Linked DNA regions of Homo sapiens: region 1 is linked to region 2. Evidence: promoter capture Hi-C in human tissues and cell types (Jung and others, 2019). All regions are on one chromosome and are shown on one strand. The core of a region is centred on a gene start or on the middle of the fragment in contact, and the rest is flanking DNA. Distances in the headings are between cores, read along the strand shown.

Evidence for each region. Contacts are between HindIII fragments. The study calls those that stand out against the background at their distance.
Region 1: a contact is called between a fragment that was not itself captured here and the fragment with the promoter of UBA52 in region 2, in 1 of the 25 tissues and cell types used here (mesenchymal stem cells).

The regions. Positions count from the first base shown.
Region 1 is chr19:18,742,716-18,747,155 of GRCh38, forward strand. It overlaps CRTC1 (CREB regulated transcription coactivator 1), which reads left to right. Exons shown (of 14, transcript NM_015321.3): 2 at 195-311; 3 at 3,108-3,245; 4 at 4,338-4,399. Among named protein-coding and RNA genes, the nearest start is that of COMP, 46 kb to the right of the region's middle. The HindIII fragment of the contact is 7,147 bases long and covers 1-4,440 here.
Region 2 is chr19:18,569,333-18,573,322 of GRCh38, forward strand. UBA52 (ubiquitin A-52 residue ribosomal protein fusion product 1) reads left to right here and starts at 2,525. Exons shown (of 5, transcript NM_001033930.3): 1 at 2,525-2,577; 2 at 3,961-3,990. The coding sequence starts at 3,969. It overlaps KXD1 (KxDL motif containing 1), which reads left to right. Exons shown (of 5, transcript NM_024069.4): 5 at 1-46. RefSeq lists enhancers at 1,859-2,535, 1,906-2,025, 2,236-2,575, 3,214-3,890. The HindIII fragment of the contact is 7,230 bases long and covers 314-3,990 here.

The DNA.
Region 1 (4,440 bases), core at 737-3,236, 170 kb after region 2:
TCGGGTTTCTGATTCTGCCATTTTTGGTGGAGGGACACCTGGTTTCCTTAAGCATCTGGGTCATGAGGTCCTGCAAACTTCTGCACTTAGGCTGTCAATCCCACCACTTGGGTCTTTTTGTGCCTTTGGGGCTGGCACTCTGAGGTGAGCCTGGGAGGTGACCCCTCCCGCAGCTGCTGGCTTCTCTCTCGCAGCTCCAGCTCCAGAAATCCCAGTACCTGCAACTGGGCCCCAGCCGAGGCCAGTACTATGGCGGGTCCCTGCCCAACGTGAACCAGATCGGGAGTGGCACCATGGACCTGCCCTTCCAGGTGAGTGCCCCGCCCCCTGGCCCTGCCCCATTGTGGGGAGCTTCCCCCAGCCTCCCACTGGGGGCCAGACATTGAGGACAGCTGGGGTTATCAGACAGTTGGCGGAGCCCACCCAACCACTGCCTTCTCCTTGTCTGCCCTGGGAACCAGAGGAAGCAGAGTGGCCCCACCAGGGTGCCCCCGCAGCCCATTCCCCATCAGCAGACCCCGAGGCGAGCCCTCCATCTGGCCTCCAGCATTTCGGCAGCCGCTACACCTGTTGGCCGGCTGTGCGGCAGCGGGAACCGCTCGGGGCCACTGGGGCTTGGCTCTGTCCTGCCTCACTAATCCGCAAGCCCAGCAATTCTCAGAAGGAGGCCCGGCGGCCTGACCCCACTTGTCTGCAAACGTTTCTTGGCAGAGGCCCACACAGCGCGGCTCCCGCAGGCCGCACAGCCGCCGTGCACAGCCTTATCGTAAACAGGAGATAAGGCCCACAGCGGCCCTCTTCCCTGTCCCTGGTCTGCGGGTGGAGATGGGGATGGGGTGGGGCCGAGGGAGCTGGCCTATGAATCAGGGCCACCCCCAGGACGGTGTCTGGGCTCTGCATGGACAGGTCCCCCTGGGGGGGGGTCACACCTACTCTGTGGCTGAGAAAACCACCTCGGACACAGCCATGGCCACTGACAGGCCAGATGGAGCCGGGGCCCCTCCCAAGTCACCCACCAGCTCCACCGCCACCTGCACCGCCGCTGGACAGGGCAGGGATCCTTGGGCTGGCCACCACGGTGCGCCTCCTCCGGCATACAGAGTGCGGGCCATCACTGATGCTGGGCGTGTTCTTTGTCACAGCCCTTCCTGGCCAGGTTTTCTCCCCTCCTGCCCTTCTCTCCCTTTCCTGTTTCTCCTGTCCCCTCTTCCCTGGAGGAGAGTCTCTCTCTGGGCACCTTGCAAGCTCAGCCTGAGTGGGGCTGAGGGGCACAGGACCCTGTTGGGTGTCTGTCGCCCGAGGCCCACAGCCCGGGGGGAGGTCCCACGCATCCCGCCTTTGGGGCCAGGCAAGGCAGCAGCGTCTCAAAGTCTCGGTTCTTTGCATTTTCAGCCCAGCGGATTTCTGGGGGAGGCCCTGGCAGCGGCTCCTGTCTCTCTGGTAAATGAGCCCCCAGGCTGAGGCCGCGGCGTCCCCGGCGCCAGCCTGCAAGACCCCGACCCGTGTGCGGGCGCTGGGGATCCCTGAGCTCCCCAAGCGGCCGCCCCTGCGGCTCCCAGGGAGGTGGAGGTGTCCCGTCCGCCAAATGGAAATGGATCCACTCCGCACCCCCATCTCGGGAAGTGCGTATGGTCGCGTCGAGAGGCCCTGGGGACTCTTGGGGTCCATCTGGGGCAGATGCCATAGCCGCGCATCCCCATCTGGGGTCCAGCAGAGCAGAATCCCAGCATGTGCCCCAAAGCTGCATGGTCCGTCCCTATATACACACACACACAAACACACACACACACACACACATACACACACGTGTGCACGCATCTCCCAAACCAGGCCAGCAGGCAGGACGTGGCGAGCCCGGGTGTGGCCAGCCCCCGCTTCATTCTGCCTCTGACTTGGCTTTGGCTGCCTCAGTTTCCCTCTGGGCTTCAAGGCATCTCTGGAAGGAGATGAATTGCCCCTACCCTGAGGAGCCTGTGCACTGGACAGCACAGTTCCCACCCTCATCGTCACAGGCCCACGTCTCCCATGCCCACAGCCTTTTGGGGGCAAGAGCCACGGAAAGACCCAAACCAGCAGAGTTCATGCTGGATCGAAGAAAGACTTGGGGGTCCCCAGGGCTGGGGACAGTAGTCAGCCCTGAACTCTGGCCGAGGCTGGGACAAAGCAGCAATCCTAGCCATGGACAGGCTTCTGGAGAGGAGACTCACTTTAGTATCAGAGTCTCATTTTGCCCGGCTGCCCAGAGAAGGCATAAGGGCTCAGGGGCCAGATGGCCGGACTGGGGGATTGGCTGCATCCAAAGCTGGCAGAGCCTGCTGATCTCACCCCAGTCAGATGGCAAGTGGGCAACACAGGGTCAGGGCGGGCTCCTGGCAGCCCCGGGGGCATGAGGCCGGGCATGTAGCAGGGCCTGGGGAGGGCCAGCCTGGTGCCAGCCCCAGGTGCTGGGAGGAAGCCCCATCCAGCCAAGCAGTGGGCCATGGCTCCGGAAGGCGCCTGTACTTGGCTCTGGTGGTGCCTGGAGTGCCTGGAGGAGGCTGCGGGGGAGGGTGTGTGGGGGCCGCGTCTCAATCAAGAGCAGCCCTGGGCTCCACAAGGAAGCCTCCCAGGAACTCGCGCTTGGCCAGGTGGGCCCCGAAACAGTCCTGGGCTGGAAGCCCCTGGGCTGTCTCTTGGCAGGCCCCTCCAGGGATGACGTAGGTGGGGGTAGGAGGCCGTCCAGGCCCGGAGAGAGAGGGCGGAGGCCTGTCTGCACCTGGTGAGACTGGGGAGGAGGGCTGCCTAGGCCGGCTACATCCCTGGCACCCGGCGGGCGCTGGCCCCGAGCTTGTGCCGCTCTGCCTGGCCTGTGCATGCCAGCTGCACTGCACGCCCCTGCCACCCTGGCTCCCGGGACCCCAGCTCACACCCCCTCCCTACCCCCCAGTGCTTGGAGAGCCAGGGAGCTGGGGCTGAAGGAAGAAGCCCATCCCAGGCTGTGGAGCGATGGCCGAGGGTGCTCCAGAGTGGGGGGCCCTGCGATCAGACTCTGGGGCCAGCGCTGGGGCCACAGCTGGTAACCATTGTTTGGATTTCTCTCTCTCTGTTTCCATCTCCTCCTCCCCCAGACCCCCTTCCAATCCTCGGGCCTGGACACCAGCCGGACCACCCGGCACCATGGGCTGGTGGACAGGGTGTACCGGGAGCGTGGCCGGCTCGGCTCCCCACACCGCCGGCCCCTGTCAGTGGACAAACACGGACGGCAGATATCCTTTTCACCAGAGGATGAGGGTGGGGGCCAGGCCCTGTCGGTGCCGGCAGGACCCCAAGTTTACCCAGCAGGTTCTGACAGGGCTGCCTGCTTCCAGCTCTGGGGACAGAATCAGGGCAGCACCATCTGGGAGGCTTGATCTCAGGGCAGCCTGGGGGACTTCCTGGAGGAGGCTGTGCCACAAGCCCTGGAGCCTTTGGCCAGACTTGGGGGCTCAAGGGGCACAGGGAACAGCTCTCAAGGCAGGAGTTGAGGAAGGTTATACCTGACCACAGAGGGCTTAGACACCTGGCAGGGCAGTGGGGCCAGGAAGGCCGTGAGCAGGGAGCCCACAGTCAGGGCTGTGAGCTGATGAGGCCTCTCCTACGCGCTGCACGGAGGGCAGCCCAGCCAAGGCAATGGGGCTAAGGGGGTCTGTGTGAGACCCGGACGCATCCAAGGGAGGCTCCATCTCTGTAAGACAGGAGTAAAATTCGCCTCTGCGACTCGGTCACGCAGAGATCAGCCAGAGTCCCCCCCTCCCCCCCAACTCAGCCGCCCCTTGGTGCTCAGCCAGCCGGGCCCCACAACACCAGAGTCTGAGCGGCCTCAGGTTGCTCCCGGGATCCCCCGGCTCTCCAGAACAGAGAAGCTTGTTCTCCGGTTCTCATTTCCGTGGGCTGGGGGAGCTTGACCAGCTGGGCCCCAGACTGAGCCCTTGGGCCCCAGGAGCCACCCCGTCAGCCCAGGATGGAGAGTCCAGACCAGGGTCAGCTGAACTCAGACTCCACAGCGTCCCCACAGGCCCTACTTTCACAGCCCAGAACCCCCTCCCTTGGAAGGGGTGCAGCCCGCACGTGTGCTCACGGAGCAGAGTGCTGAGTGCTAGGTGGACAGGGCTGTACCCCTGGAGAGCCCCTGGAACGGGGGCTGCTTGTAGCCAGGCAGGAAAGGCCGGCAGGAAACGCCCCCCGCCCTACTGGTCCCAGCTGTTTGCAGGCCTCAGGCCGACCCCAGCCAGCCAGCCGGGGCTTCCTGCCCTGGGCTGAGAGTGTGTTGTTGGAGGCGGGGTCTCAGCCAGTGGCACTGCCCCCTTAACTCACCTCACGCCGACAGCTGCCCCTATGGCACCATGTACCTCTCACCACCCGCGGACACCAGCTGGAGAAGGTCAGTGGCTGGACACCCCCCCCCCGCCCCCTTCTTGTTGG
Region 2 (3,990 bases), core at 1,275-3,774:
GTTGGGAAGTTATCAATAAAAAGACACCATTACTAAAAAGGGAAAAGTACACCTAGCTGTGGCTTCTTCAGTCCTTAAGCCAAGCAACCCAAAAGGAGGGCAAGTGCTGGATGTGGGGCTGGGGGCCCTGCTGGAGGGAGGTGCAGACAATCAGGCACTACAGGGCTAGAAAGAGATGTGGCCCTTTTTTGGAACCCCCCCTGGTGGGAGCTATAACAACCCAAGTTCCCGTCACCAGCTAGGTCTTCCCTCACGCTGCTGTCACTGCTCACAATACTAGTGTTCCCATCCTCATTTCATAATTCCTTCTCCAGATCTCAGCCTTCCTCCAGATAGGGGAGCCACACTAGATCCATTCCCCATCAGACACACTCCCAGGGTTACCTCATCTTCTGAGTACTTAGAAATTATGTTGTTATGACCGGGCTTGGTGGCTCATGCCTGTAATCCCAGCACTTTGGGAGGCCGAGGTGGGTGGATCACCTGAGGTCAGGAGTTCGAGACCAGCCTGGCCAACATGGTGAAACCCCATCTCTACCAAAAATATAAAAATTAGCTGGGTGTGGTGGTGTACACCTGTAATCCCAGCTACTTGGGAGGCTGAGGCAGAATTGCTTGAATCCAGGAGGCAGAGGTTGCAGTGAGCCAAGATCGCACCACTGCACTCTAGCCTGGGCAAAAAGACCAAAACTGTTGTCTCAAAAAAGAAAAGGAAATTAGGTTCTTAAAGGCATCTTCCCAGACGTGAGAGTGTCTGCTTTTGCCTGGTATAGTAGTGCCTGCAAATGTTCAAGGAAATAAACAGGTACCCCTGTTAAGCCTATAGGTAACTTCTCATTGCTCCCCATCTTCTCTGTACTCAGCACTTTTTTTTTTTGTTTTGTTTTTGAGACAGCACCTCTCTGTTGCCCAGGCTGGAGTGCAGTGGCTGAATCATGGGTCACTGCAATCTCAAACCTATGGGTTCAGGCAATCCTCCTGCCTCCGAAGTAGCTGGGACTGCAGGTGCGCACCACCACACCTGGATAGTTCAAAATAAAACTTTTTTTTGTAGAGACAGGGTCTCACTATGTCTTCCAGGCTGGTCGTGAATTCCTGACCTCAAGTAATCCTCCCTCTTTGACCTTCCAAAGTGCTGGGATTACAAGTGTGAACCACTGCACCCGCCGTGGCACTTTTTTTTTTTTTTTTTTTTTTTGAGATGGAGTCTCACTCTGTCACCCAGGCTGGGTGCAGTGGCGTGAACTCAGCTCACTGCAACCTCCACCTCCCGGATTCAAGCGATTCTCCTGCCTCAGCCTCCTGAGTAGCTGGGATTACAGGCACCCGCCACCACACCTGAAAAATTTTTGTAATTTTTTTTTTCTTTTTTGAGACGGAGTTTTGCTCTTGTTGCCCAGGCTGTAGTGCAATGGCACTCTCTCGGCTAATTGCAACCTCTGCCTCCCGGGTTCAAGCGATTCTCCTGCCTCAGCCTCCTGAGTAGCTGGGATTACAGGCATGCGCCACCACGCCCAGCTAATTTTGTATTTTTAGTAGAGATGCGGTTTCTCCATGTTGGTCAGGCTCGTCTCGAACTCCCGACCTCAGGTGATCCGCACATCTCGGCCTCCCAAAGTGCAGGCGTGAGTCACCGGACCCAGGTCCCGCCCTGGCACTTTTTAACCACCCACAAATCTGGATCCTACACTGAAAAGAGACACTGCAGTGGCTCACGTCTGTAATCCCAGCACTTTGGGAGGCCAAGGCGGGCGGATCACCTGAGGTCGCGAGTTTGAGACCAGCCTGACCAACATGGAGAAACCCCGTCTCTACTAAAAATACAAAAGTGGCCAGGCATGGTGTCGCACACTTGTAATCGCAGCTACTCGGGAGGCTGAGGCAGGAGAATTGCTTGAACCCAGGAGGCGGAGGTTGCGGTGAGCCGAGATCGCGCCATTGCACTACAGCCTGGGCAACGAGAGCGAAACTCCGTCTCAAAAAAAAAAAAAAAAAAAATCCTGAGTCCCGCTTGACACCTTTTGTCAGGCACCACCACCTTTCTGGGCGAATGCGGTAGTACCGTCTGCTCTCCCTGCTGCTGTCCTGAAATCCATTCAGGCACAGCGGCCGAGAGCTTTATAATAACCGATTCCAGGTGTTAGGTGCTTTCCCAGCCCCGACTCCTGCGTCCTGGACCCGCAGTCCTCTGCTTAATACCTTTGCTTTATTAGAAAACATTCTCCTCTACTCCGTTCAGCTATTCGCTGAGGGCCCGCCAACCGCCAGCGGTTGTCAGTGGCCTAGAGGCAGCGGACGCAAACACGGGGAGAGGTGCAATCGTCTCAAGTGACTCGGCGGGCGGGGCCCACAACCGGAAGCGGGTGGGCGACCTTCACCCACGTGCGCTGCGGCTTCGTTCGCCAGCATCCAAGATGGCGGCAGGGCGGGGCCCAAGGCGCGGCGCGAATTGTGACGCAGGCGTCCGGCGTGCTCCGTGCGCAAGCGCTTTCGGCGGCGATTAGGTGGTTTCCGGTTCCGCTATCTTCTTTTTCTTCAGCGAGGCGGCCGAGCTGGTTGGTGGCGGCGGTCGTGCGGGTTCGCGCCGGGCCGAGAGCGGGTTGGGGGCTGCGGGAGGCTGCAGGGGCCTGGGCGGCAGAAGAGGCGGCCCTGAGCTGGCTCATGCGGGCCAGTCTCGGCAGGGTGGCTGGGCAGGGCTCGCGAGGCCACGGCTCGGAGCCCAGACCGGGGCCCAGGAGGCGAGCGCCGTTTTGGAGAGGAGCCTGCCTGCTCTGCCTGCCAGCGTGACCCCACGAGGCCTCGGGCGGGAAGAGGTCCTCGGGGCAGATCCGAGTTAATGAGAGAGGGGTATTGAGCGTGTAGCGTTAACTCTGCCAGTCACTGCGTCAGTCGCTTTGGAAATACTAAATTTCTCGAGCTGAGTCTTCATACCTGGCTCCATTACTACGTCTGTAAGGAGGAGCTGGTGGTAGTGTCTGCTTTTTAGACTTTTCTTTAGACTATTTGTATTTTTTTCAGATGGAGTCTTGCTCTGTCGCCTAAGCTGGAGTTCAGTGGTGCGGTCTCGGCTCACTGCAATCTCCACCTCCCGGGCTCGAGCGATTCTTCTGCCTCAGCCTCCCGAGTAGCTGGGATTATAGGCGCCTGCCACCACGCCCAGTTGATTTTTGTAGTTTTAGTAGAGACGGAGTTTCACCATGTTAGCCAGGCTCATCTTGAACTCTTGACCTCAAATGATCCGTCTGCCTCGGCCTTCCAAAGTGCTGGGATTACAGGCATGAGCCCCTGCGCCCGGTCGATTCTTTGTCTTTTTAAGTCAACTTTTATATGTGAACAATGCTTGGCAGGTGGTTGGTAGATACTAAGTGATGTTCGTGGTTTGGGGTCAAGGCAAGAAGTGGGGTCTGGAGAGTTTTGGTGTAATTGAGAAGGAAGCTAAGAGTGTTGGGTGCTCCAGCTTGGAGTTAGAGAGGAGAGAGGCTGCGACAGGAAGGCATGTGTGTTGTAGGGGATGGCTTCCCATCCAGGCTGGCAGCAGGAGCAGCCTGTGCAGATCAGGACCTGGCTGCCGTGGAAGAGGGTGGGACCGCCTTCAGGGAAGATGGATCTAGCAAGATGATGCCAAAGGGTACTTATTCCATCAGGAGATACTGACGAGTCCTTCCGCCGCTAAACCTAAGGAGAATAACCACAGTCTGTGTTCCTGAAGAGCACCCGTGCGGTCAGGAGGGTGGAGGACATGTGGTCTTTAGTTCCAGGACATGTTTAGACTACAGGCCAGGGTGTGTGAGAAGCCTAGCAGGGCCAGGCTTGGAGGAGTGAAAGGAAGACAGGTACTGGGGCAGGACCAGTTGGACTTGGTGCAGGCAAAGGGATAGCAACTGTGGTGTAGGCACCTGAGCTTGTGCTACTCAGGCATGCATTGCTCACCAGTCTATCCTGCCTCCCTTCCTCCTGCAGACGCAAACATGCAGATCTTTGTGAAGACCC